2 separate regions of the Homo sapiens genome follow, and region 1 is linked to region 2. The links are contacts of gene promoters, found by promoter capture Hi-C in human tissues and cell types (Jung and others, 2019). All regions are on one chromosome and are shown on one strand. The core of a region is centred on a gene start or on the middle of the fragment in contact, and the rest is flanking DNA. Distances in the headings are between cores, read along the strand shown.

Region 1 (4,404 bases), core at 604-3,103, 230 kb after region 2:
ATTGTTTGTTGCTAGCATATAGAAATACAAGTGATTTTGTATATTGCTCTTGTATCCTGTGACTTTGCTGAGCTTATTTTAGTAGTTTTTTTTCACTGAATTCTTTAGGATTTTCTACATAAAAAATTCATATCATCTGTGAATAAAGACAGTTTTATTTCTTAATTTTTAATCTTTTGTTTCTTTTTCTTGCTGAATTGCCTTGGCTAGAATCTCCAGTACAATGGTGAATAGAACTGGTAAGAATATACATTTTCGTCTTGTTTTTAGTAGGAAAGCATCATGTCTTTTACAATTAAATATGATGTTGGCTGTAGGTTTTTTCATAGATGTCATTTATCAAGTTAAGAATGATCCTTTCTATTCCTAGTTTGTTGAGGGGTTTTATTATGAATAGGTGTTGCACTTTGTCAAAATTTTTTTTCGGCATCTACTGAGGTTATTCATGATTTGCTAAAAAACACATAGCTTTGTTTACTGGAGAGGCCCGGAAGCAGTAAAAAGCCATTAACAATGAACATTACTAACACACAGATTATGTTCTATAAGTATTTCCCACTAAAAGGAGCTAAAACTTCTTGAGGAAGGGCTGATTTCAGGTTTGGGACAAGAAATGTATAAAAATAACCTTTCATATATCAGAAAAGCAAGATAGCTATCAACAGTTGTGTCAAAAGGCTAGGAGCCAAAATGAAGGGGGACCCTACTTGCCAAAGGTGAGACAATTCACATATCAAAAGGAAAAAGTGTAATTGATTGAATATATAAAAATTTATTTATATCAATATTAAAGTAAAAATAATTTATGAGCTCATACTAATACTAAACAAAATTTTAGAAATTGGTGTTACTTTTGGAGGTTGCTGCAGAATCAAGTTCTGAAAATTGGTAAAGGGGAGAAGCAAACATTTTCTACTTTCTAGTATAAATTATATTTCAAGATAATCAAATAGCTGATCAAGGTAAGTTTTTTAGATATATTTCAGCTGATAAATGCAAAGGAATGAGAAGGCATCATTTATAACTCTCAGTGAAATAATAGATGTAAGCATCAATCATTAGTATCTGCTTAAACCCTTAGGTGAAAGATTGATGGAGTATTTTATAATGGAGCTAGCTGATAACACCCGAGGCCACTACCCACTGTTAGTATCTCTAAACACGGGCTGTCTAGGTATCACGTATGTTATGACTGGGTGCTATAGAGCACCTATGAAGTATTTCTAACAGCCTCTTTTTTTTTTTTTTTTTTTTTGAGACGGAGTCTTCCTCTGTCGCCCAGGCTGGAGTGCAGTGGCGTGATCTTGGCTCACTGCGAGCTCTACCTCCTGGATTCACGCCATTCTCCTGCCTCAGCCTCCTGAGTAGCTGGGACTACAGGCGCCCGCCACTATGTCCGGCTAATTTTTTTTTTTTGTATTTTTAGTAGAGACGGGGTTTCACCGTGGTAGCCAGGATGGATAACAGCCTCTTAATGTGAGTATCTTCGTAGAGAAATACGTTTAACTATATCTGTTGCAGTGCAGATACACACACCAAATAGAATAGAAACTATAGAAGAATTTCTAAAATTAAAGGGCAAAGGAACGAAATAGAAATTTGACCAAGTGAGCAAAAGAAGGGACAGGAAAAAAAGAAAACTTCAAAGTATAATAGTAAACAAATTAAGTGGTAACTAGGGGAATTTTAACATTGATTGGGTATTAGATGATATTAAGGAATGTTTATTTTATCAAGTGTGATAATGTTGTTATAGTTAGACCTTATCTGTTAAATACTCAAATGTGGGTGAAATACAGTCATGCATCACTTAACGACAGGGGTATGTTCTGAGAAATATGTCTTTAGGTGATTTCATCTTTGTATAAACATCACGGAGTGTACTTACATAAATCTAGATGGTATAGCCTACCATATACCTAGGCTATATGGGATAGCCTGTTGCTCCTAGGCTACAAACTTGTACAATGTATTACTTACTGTACTGAATACTGTAGGCAACACAATGGTAAGGATTTGTGTATCTAAACATATCTAAACATAGAAAAGGCACTGTAAAAACACAGTATTATAATCTTATGAGACCACTGTCATATATGTGGTCTGTCAATGACCAAAACGTTGTTATGAATGAAGTGCATGACTTTAAGGTGATGGCTGGGATCTGCTTTAAAATACTTCAGTGGTGATGGAGAGGAGAAGTAAGAGTGGGAGGAGACAGATAAAACAAAATTTACAAAATCTGTTAATTTTTGAAGCTGGATGGTTGGTATATGGAGGTTCATGGGTTTCTTATATTCTTTTATGTATTTGCATTTCCCAGAGTGTGAAAGATGAGAGAAAAACACTCAAGACAAAAGCTAGATTCTTTTTAAGCCTAATTTTGGAAGTGACATACCACCCCCCTATACTTTTTAATAGAGTTTATTTTTTAGAGCAGTTTTAGGTTCACAACAAAATTCAGTGGATGTTTACAGAGATTTCCCATATACCCTTTTTCTCTACAAATGCATAGCCTCACCCATTATCAACATTCCCCACCAGAGTTCCTAGCATCGCTATTAGGCACACAGACCAGACCAACCCTGGTGCATTTTGGGAGAGGATTACACAAGGGTGTGAATACCAGAATGCAGGGATCACTGGGGGCCTCTTAGAGCCTGACCGTGTACACCCTCACAGAACTTACTAGAATTAACATCAGAAAAGAAAGCTGAGAGAAAAGTACTGGGATATGAGGCCCTTATGATGATACCTGGTTCTCCTGTCTTATTTCTGGACACAGGCTTTTTTTACTTTATTCTCCTGAAAGCAGACTGCTTTGATTTCCCTGAACAGCCCATGCTGTCTCACTGCCTTCCTTCTGTATATCTTACACATGCTGCTCTGCCTGGAATGTCCTTTCCACTCTTGTCCACTTAGCAAAACTATTACTCTCTTTCAAACCTTTCTCAGGCTTAACTTCTTTTCTAATCATTCTTACAGTCCACATCAGGGCAGACTATTGAATCGCTTCTGCTGGGCTATGTAAATAATTCAATTGTTGCATGTTTTATACTGAGATGCATTATGTAAAACATTACCTGCCTTATTACCTGAAGTTTGGTGGTTTTGTTTGTTTGTTTTAAAGAAAGGCAGACTGCCACATGCAGCAACTCACTTGGATGTGTCTGGAGTCTTGGAAGCTTGACTTCAAAGAACCCTACGTTCTCTTACAAATGAACCTTGAGAGCTTGTTTGGAGGTTCTAGTAGGGGAATGCAGCTACTTGTATACCCTTGACTGCAGACTGGCCTTCCTCTATTGGGGATGGCTGTCCTCTTCCACTGAGTGTGCACAGCTTCAAGAGGGAAGCACATGGAGTGGTGAGGGAGGAAGGGGACTCCTGCCTAGCTAGCCAGATCAGCCGAATCAACCCTGGCGATCAATAGAGTGACAGATGTCACAGTCAGATCGCCCTCATATCTGGCTGGCTTTTTTCGAGACAGGGTCTTGCTCTGTCAATGAGGCTGTAGTGCAGTGGTGTGATCATGCACTGGCCCAAGTAATCCTCCCACCTCAATCTCCCAAGTATCTGGGACCAGAGGCATGTGCCAACACACCCAGCTTTTATATATATATATATATAATTAAAATTTATATATAACATAATTTATATATAATATATAATTTTAATATATAATTATATAGTATATACATTTTATATTTTATATATATAAATTTTATATATATATGTAGTTTTTTGTAAAGACGGTCTCTCTTATTTGCCTAAATTGGTCTTGAATTCCTGGGTTAAAGCGATTCTCCCGCCTTGCCCTCTCAAAGTGCTGGGGGATTTTATTAATAGGTATGAGCCACCGCTCTAGGCTGATGATATGAGTCTTAAATTCCTTTTACTCTGTCAGTTTCTCCCTCTCCACTTTCTTTCCTTGCAATTCAATTTTTGGAGAAGCAAAGTTATTTGTCTTGTAAAGTTTCGCACTTTTGAACTCTGCTCATTGAATTGCTATGAAGTTAACACATTCCTCTGTTCCTTTGTATTTCCTGTAAACTGGAAGATTTAGAGCAGCAGTTCTCAAACATTTTTGCCTTGAGATCCCTTTAAAGTCTCAAAAACTTGAGGACACAAAGAGCTTCTGTTTACATGCATTACATCTAGTGATTTACCATATTAGAAATTAAAATTGAGAAATTTAAAAAAATTAGTGCATCAAAAATAAACCTATTTATGTGCTTTTTTTTTTTTTTTGAGACTGAGTCTCACTCTGTCACCCAGGTTGGAGTGCAGTGGCATGATTTCGTCTCACTGCAGCCTCCGTGTCCCAGGTTCAAGGGATTCTTCTGCCTCAGCTTCCCAAGGAGCTAACAGGCGTGCACCACCACGCCCAGCTAATTTTTGTATATT
Region 2 (4,930 bases), core at 1,759-4,258:
TAAATAAAATTTTTAAAAAAAGCTTATTTCCCTAGCTAAATTTTCAAATAATTGTTAATTTAGGAATAAAACCCAGAATATCTTTTTTCCCCCTTGCTGAATATTCATATTATCTTTATTTTAAATAGACTCAATTTCAAGAGATAAATTATCCTCTGTATCTTTTTTTTTTCTTTTTTTCTTTTTTGAGATGGAGTCTTGCTCTGTCGCCAGGCTGGAGTGCAGTGGCGTGATCTCGGCTCACTGTAACCTCCACCTACCAGGTTCAAGCGATTCTCCTGTCTCAGCCTCCCAAGTAGCTGGGATTACAAGCGTGCACCACCATGCCCAGCTAATTTTTGGTGTTTTTTTTGAGACGGAGTTTCATTCTTGTTGCCCAGGCTGGAGTGCAATGGCACGATCTCGGCTCACTGCAACCTCCGCCTCCCAGGTTCAAAGGATTCTCCTGCCTCAGCCTCCCTAGTAGATGGGATTACAGGTGCCTGCCACCACGCCCAGCTAATTTTTTTGTATTTTTAGTAGAGACGGGGTTTCACCATGTTGGCCAAGCTGGTCTTGAACTCCTGACCTTAGGAGAGCCACCCTCCTCAGCCTCCCAAAGTGCTGGGATTACAGGCGTGGGCCACAATGCTCTGCCAAGACCGAGTCTTGCTGTCATCCAGGCTGGAGTGCAGTGGTACAATCTTGGCTCACTGCAGCCTCTGCCTCTCAGGTTCAAGTGATTCTCCTGCCTCTGTCTCCTGAGTAGCTGGGACTATAGGCGCGCGCCACCACGCCGGGCTTTTTGTATTTTTGGTAGAGACGGGGTTTCACCATGTTGGCCAGAATAGTCTGCATCTCCTGACCTCGTGATCTGCCTGCCTCGGCCTCCCAAAGTGCTGGGATTACAAGCGTGAGCCACCGCTCCCGGCCTTATCCCCTGTATCTTACACTTCTAGTCTGACTGGGGAGTTGAAAACATATGACTTCTCACAGATTAGTTTTTTATTTTTTATTGTAAGCATAAGTGTTTTCTTCAAAGCTGCTCTTCTTTTTCTGTCAAATGCATCTTTATATCACTAAAATGAATTTGGGTTTGGGGAAGCGCCGCCATTTTTAACTTTTTTTTTTTTTTTTTTTTTTTTTTTGAGACAGAGTTTAGCTCTTTTTGCCCAGACTGGAGTGCAATGGCGTGATCTCGGCTCACTACAACCTCCACCTCCCAGGTTCAAGTGATTCTCCTGCCTCAGCCTCCCGAGTAGCTAGGACTATAGGTGCACGCCACCACACCTGGCTAATTTTTGTATTTTTAGTAGAGATGGGGTTTCTCCACGTTGGTCAGGCTCCGGACCTCAGGTGATCCGCCCCCCTCAGCCTCCTAAAATGTTGGGATTACAGGCGTGAGCCACTGCATCTATCTGTCCTTTAACGTATTTTTAATTGAAATATTGACGAGATAAAAATAAACAACGTAAAAATCATACTGCTTAAGGGAACCTTTAAGGAGCCTTACCAACTGTGGTATAACTATTAATAGTTCAAAGAAATTACATTATCTAGGTTACTTGCAATGGAAGTTGAGTTACTCGCTTCACCTAAACAAGGAAGTTGGCATGTTTGCCTAGCAACAGTCGCTAAAACCTTCTGTTGTGGAAGGTTCCCTAGGAGTGAGAAGAAGGGAGGAGGAGGAAAAGCAGGAGGAGCAGATTAATCTGTTTTTCCTAGCAGGGTACAGAGGCCTGGTCTGAGAAGGGAAAGGCTTTAAGAGATCCCTTTAGATTGGCACATGCTAACCTAAATCCCCCTGTGGTAGCTAGAAATTCACTCTCTGTAGGACTGGGGTTACTATTTAGTAGGCTGAAAAGACGATTACAGATTAAACCCAGTTCAGAGGCAGCAAATTCCAATCAGTGGAAAGACAACAATAGGTCTTCTAAACAGAAGCTGAGATCTCAGTAGCAGGAGGGTGCTAACAACTAAAAAGAATTCTTCTCTGCCAAGAGTTTAGGAAGGTGTGTGATATTTCTTAAAAATAATACAAAAACACTATCTGTGATAGCGATTCCAATGTATCAAGTTAAAGGCAGAAGTGCTTCTCTTGGGGTACTGTGATGTAAACAGTGAAGAAAGGACAGAAAAACATAATCTCTGCTCTCTTGGTCAAATCCTGAAGCAAAAAAGGTGATAGCGCCGAGTAGAGGTATTAAATGGTTGTTTATTTGGGGACTCTCTCTCTCCTCTATTCTAGATGATTTATTTTGAAATTAGTACTGTATGGTGTTACAATAATCCCATTTCTTCCCCTTCTCAAAAGCGAGGGTTTGGCTAAAATGAATTGTCTGAAGGGACCTCCCATTCCCCAAAACCAAAACGGCACCTTTTCCACAAGGGACAAGAAACTTTTAAAGAGTCGCAAGGTTAGATTTCAGGAGCCCTTCTATGGGCCATATCTTTTCCTGTCGTCCCCAAATAGCTCTTATTGTTCACACAGCCCAGGAGAGACGTTTTGGAGTAGCGTGTCCGGGCCTTTTGGGCTGTTTCACAGCCTTAGGAGGCTGAACTCCCAGAGGGGTGACGAGGACAAAGCTGATGAGATCCAGAACCTGGATAATATGGAAGAAGAAAAATGGGGTGGGGGACAAGACGTGAAAAAGAAACAAGAGTTGGGGGACAACGGCTGAGAAAGCCGAAAGAGTAGACGTAGTGTGGGGTTCGATGGAAACGAAAGAAATTCCCCCAATTTACTCTCGCCATCTGGCCACTGGCCCGCTGAGCCCAAAGGCGCCGGTGCGGGAGGGCAGACCGGACCGAGGGACCGGTTCATCTGCTCAGGGCGTGTGAGACTTTCGGTCGCGGCGGAGAGCGTCGCCGGTCTCCCTCCGGGCGTTGGTGGCCGGTGACTCAGAGCTTTGCTCCCGCGCCCGCCCCTCCCCTCCGCCCGCCCCGCCTCCTGAGGGAGGATCCTCGCCCTCGTCTCCGCCCCAGTCTCCGGGGCGGGCCGGAGCCTGAGGAAGAGGAAGGGGACGAGGACAACGAGCGACTGGGCGGCGGAGGACGAGGAGGAGGAAGAGGAGGCCGAGCAACAAGATGGCCCCTGCTGCAGGAGCAGCCTCAGCAGCAGCAGGTGGGAGGCCGGAGGCGGTGCTGGCGGTGGCGGCGGCAGCCGTGGCCCGGCGGCCTGGGACAGAATCAGAGTCAACGGTGGCCTCGGCGGCGGCGGCGGCTGCCGCGGCGGTGGCGACGGCCGCGGGGACTCGGAGCTGAGAGGAGCTGCTGCTCGGACCAGCGCGGTGAGCGAGCGGCGGGCGGCGACTTGGGGAGCGGGGCTGCCGCGGCCGGGGCCTCAGTCGGGAACAATAGGCAGCTGTGGTCGGGAAGGGTTTGTCCTCGCCCGCCCTCTGCTCCTCCGCGGCAGCGGCAGCCCGGCCGGCCCCAGGCTCCTCAGGGCCCCCGCCGGCTGTTCTGGGGCTTGTCAGTGGCCGGCGTCCTTTAGGCCTCAGGCCTCTGCATGCCGCCTGTAGGGCCTGTCGGGGTAGGTAGGCCGAGAGGAGGACGAAGGGAGGCTCGGACGAGAGGGAGGGGGCGAAAGGGCTACCTGGCTCCTGTGGTACTCCCAGGGCCTGGGCCAGGCGGGGAATGCGCACGGGAACTGCTTTTTGGACCCCTAGTCTGTGGGGGTGGGGGAGGGCGAAGGCGTCTGTAAACAGGCGCCGCCTCGGCCTCCCAGCACCTCAGGGCTGCTTCCTCCCCCAGCCCCTGAAGCGCTCCCCTTCTTTGGCCAAGTGGATTTCACGGTGTCTGTTTCCCTGAAGTCCCTGGAGATCTAGCCTGGTAGTCTTCTCCCTGCTGGCGATGGGAAAATTGTGTGTGTGCAGGTGTCTTTAAAAAAAAAAAACAAAAAACTTAAATGCAACAAAAACATATAAAATGTGGTTATCGGTAAAGGATGGAGTGGTAAGGGATGCGCCTCTCTAAACATCTCTAAGTATCAGTTCTATAAACATCAGTTATGCCCGCATCCCAGGTGAGAGTGGATTGAAACAAGGGCTCTTTTGGAACAGTAATAACACAACTCTTGACATACCAGAATAGCCTATGAAACTGGAAACAAACACTGGCAACGCGGAGACAAACTGTAATGTTTAAAGAGGACTTTTATTCCAGCTAGGCGTTTTGAATTACTAACATGCAGTATAAGAAGCAACATTAACTAGCATAAAGTGGACCTCAGGAAGCACTTCGAAAGGAGACAGGTGGTTCATCTCCGGCCATAGAGCTTCTTGTGCCTTGTCTCGTGTTTCAGTAATTTTTCCTGAAATTGTTCAAGACCAGTCTTTTCTCTGAGTTTGAAATTTGATTTCGTTTTTGTTTTGTTTTGCGACGGAGTCTTGCTCTGTCACCCAGGCTGGATTGCAGTGGCACAATCTCGGCTCACTACAGCCTCCACCTCCCGGATTCAAGCGATTCTCCTGCCTCACCATCCGGAGTAGCTGGGATTACAGGCGCCCGCCACCATGCCCGGCTGATTTTTGTATTTTTAGTAGAGACGGGGTTTCACCATGTTGGCCAGGCTGGTCTGGAACTCCTGACCTCAAGTCATCTGCCCTCCTCCGCCTCCCAAAGTGCTTGGATTACAGGCGTGAGCCACCTCGCTCAGCCTTAAACTTAATTTTTCAAGGCTTCTACCACATTTTCTTACAAGTGAGGGAAAAGGTAGATTTATTTCTAAAGTACTTTCTACCTAGGTATGCAGAAATTTATATTAAAATCGCTTGGATACATCCAAGGAGATTGCTTTTCACTTGTTAACATTCAACTGCAAGGCCTAAGGGTTATAGGTTGTGTTCTTTTCAGCACTGACCTGTGCTGAAAAGATGCCAGTTAATATCTTTCACCTCTTCTAAGGGTAAATTTCTAAGTAGAATTGGTCCAAGTCTGTTCTAATTAAAAA

Evidence for each region. The method cuts DNA at HindIII sites, captures the fragments that hold promoters and counts their contacts. A contact is called where the count stands out against the background at its distance.
Region 1: a fragment that was not itself captured here is called in contact with the fragment with the promoter of RC3H1 in region 2 in 1 of the 25 tissues and cell types used here (aorta).

The regions. Positions count from the first base shown.
Region 1 is chr1:173,790,610-173,795,013 of GRCh38, reverse strand. It overlaps the pseudogene RN7SKP160. Among named protein-coding and RNA genes, the nearest start is that of DARS2, 32 kb to the left of the region's middle. The HindIII fragment of the contact is 6,146 bases long and covers 1-4,404 here.
Region 2 is chr1:174,020,435-174,025,364 of GRCh38, reverse strand. It overlaps RC3H1 (ring finger and CCCH-type domains 1), which reads left to right and starts at 3,008. Exons shown (of 20, transcript NM_172071.4): 1 at 3,008-3,269. It overlaps RC3H1-DT (RC3H1 divergent transcript), which reads right to left and starts at 2,882. Exons shown (of 2, transcript NR_187284.1): 1 at 2,725-2,882; 2 at 2,175-2,582. RefSeq lists silencers at 2,773-3,022, 3,133-3,452 and enhancers at 3,659-4,198, 4,263-4,382. The HindIII fragment of the contact is 11,356 bases long and covers 1-4,930 here.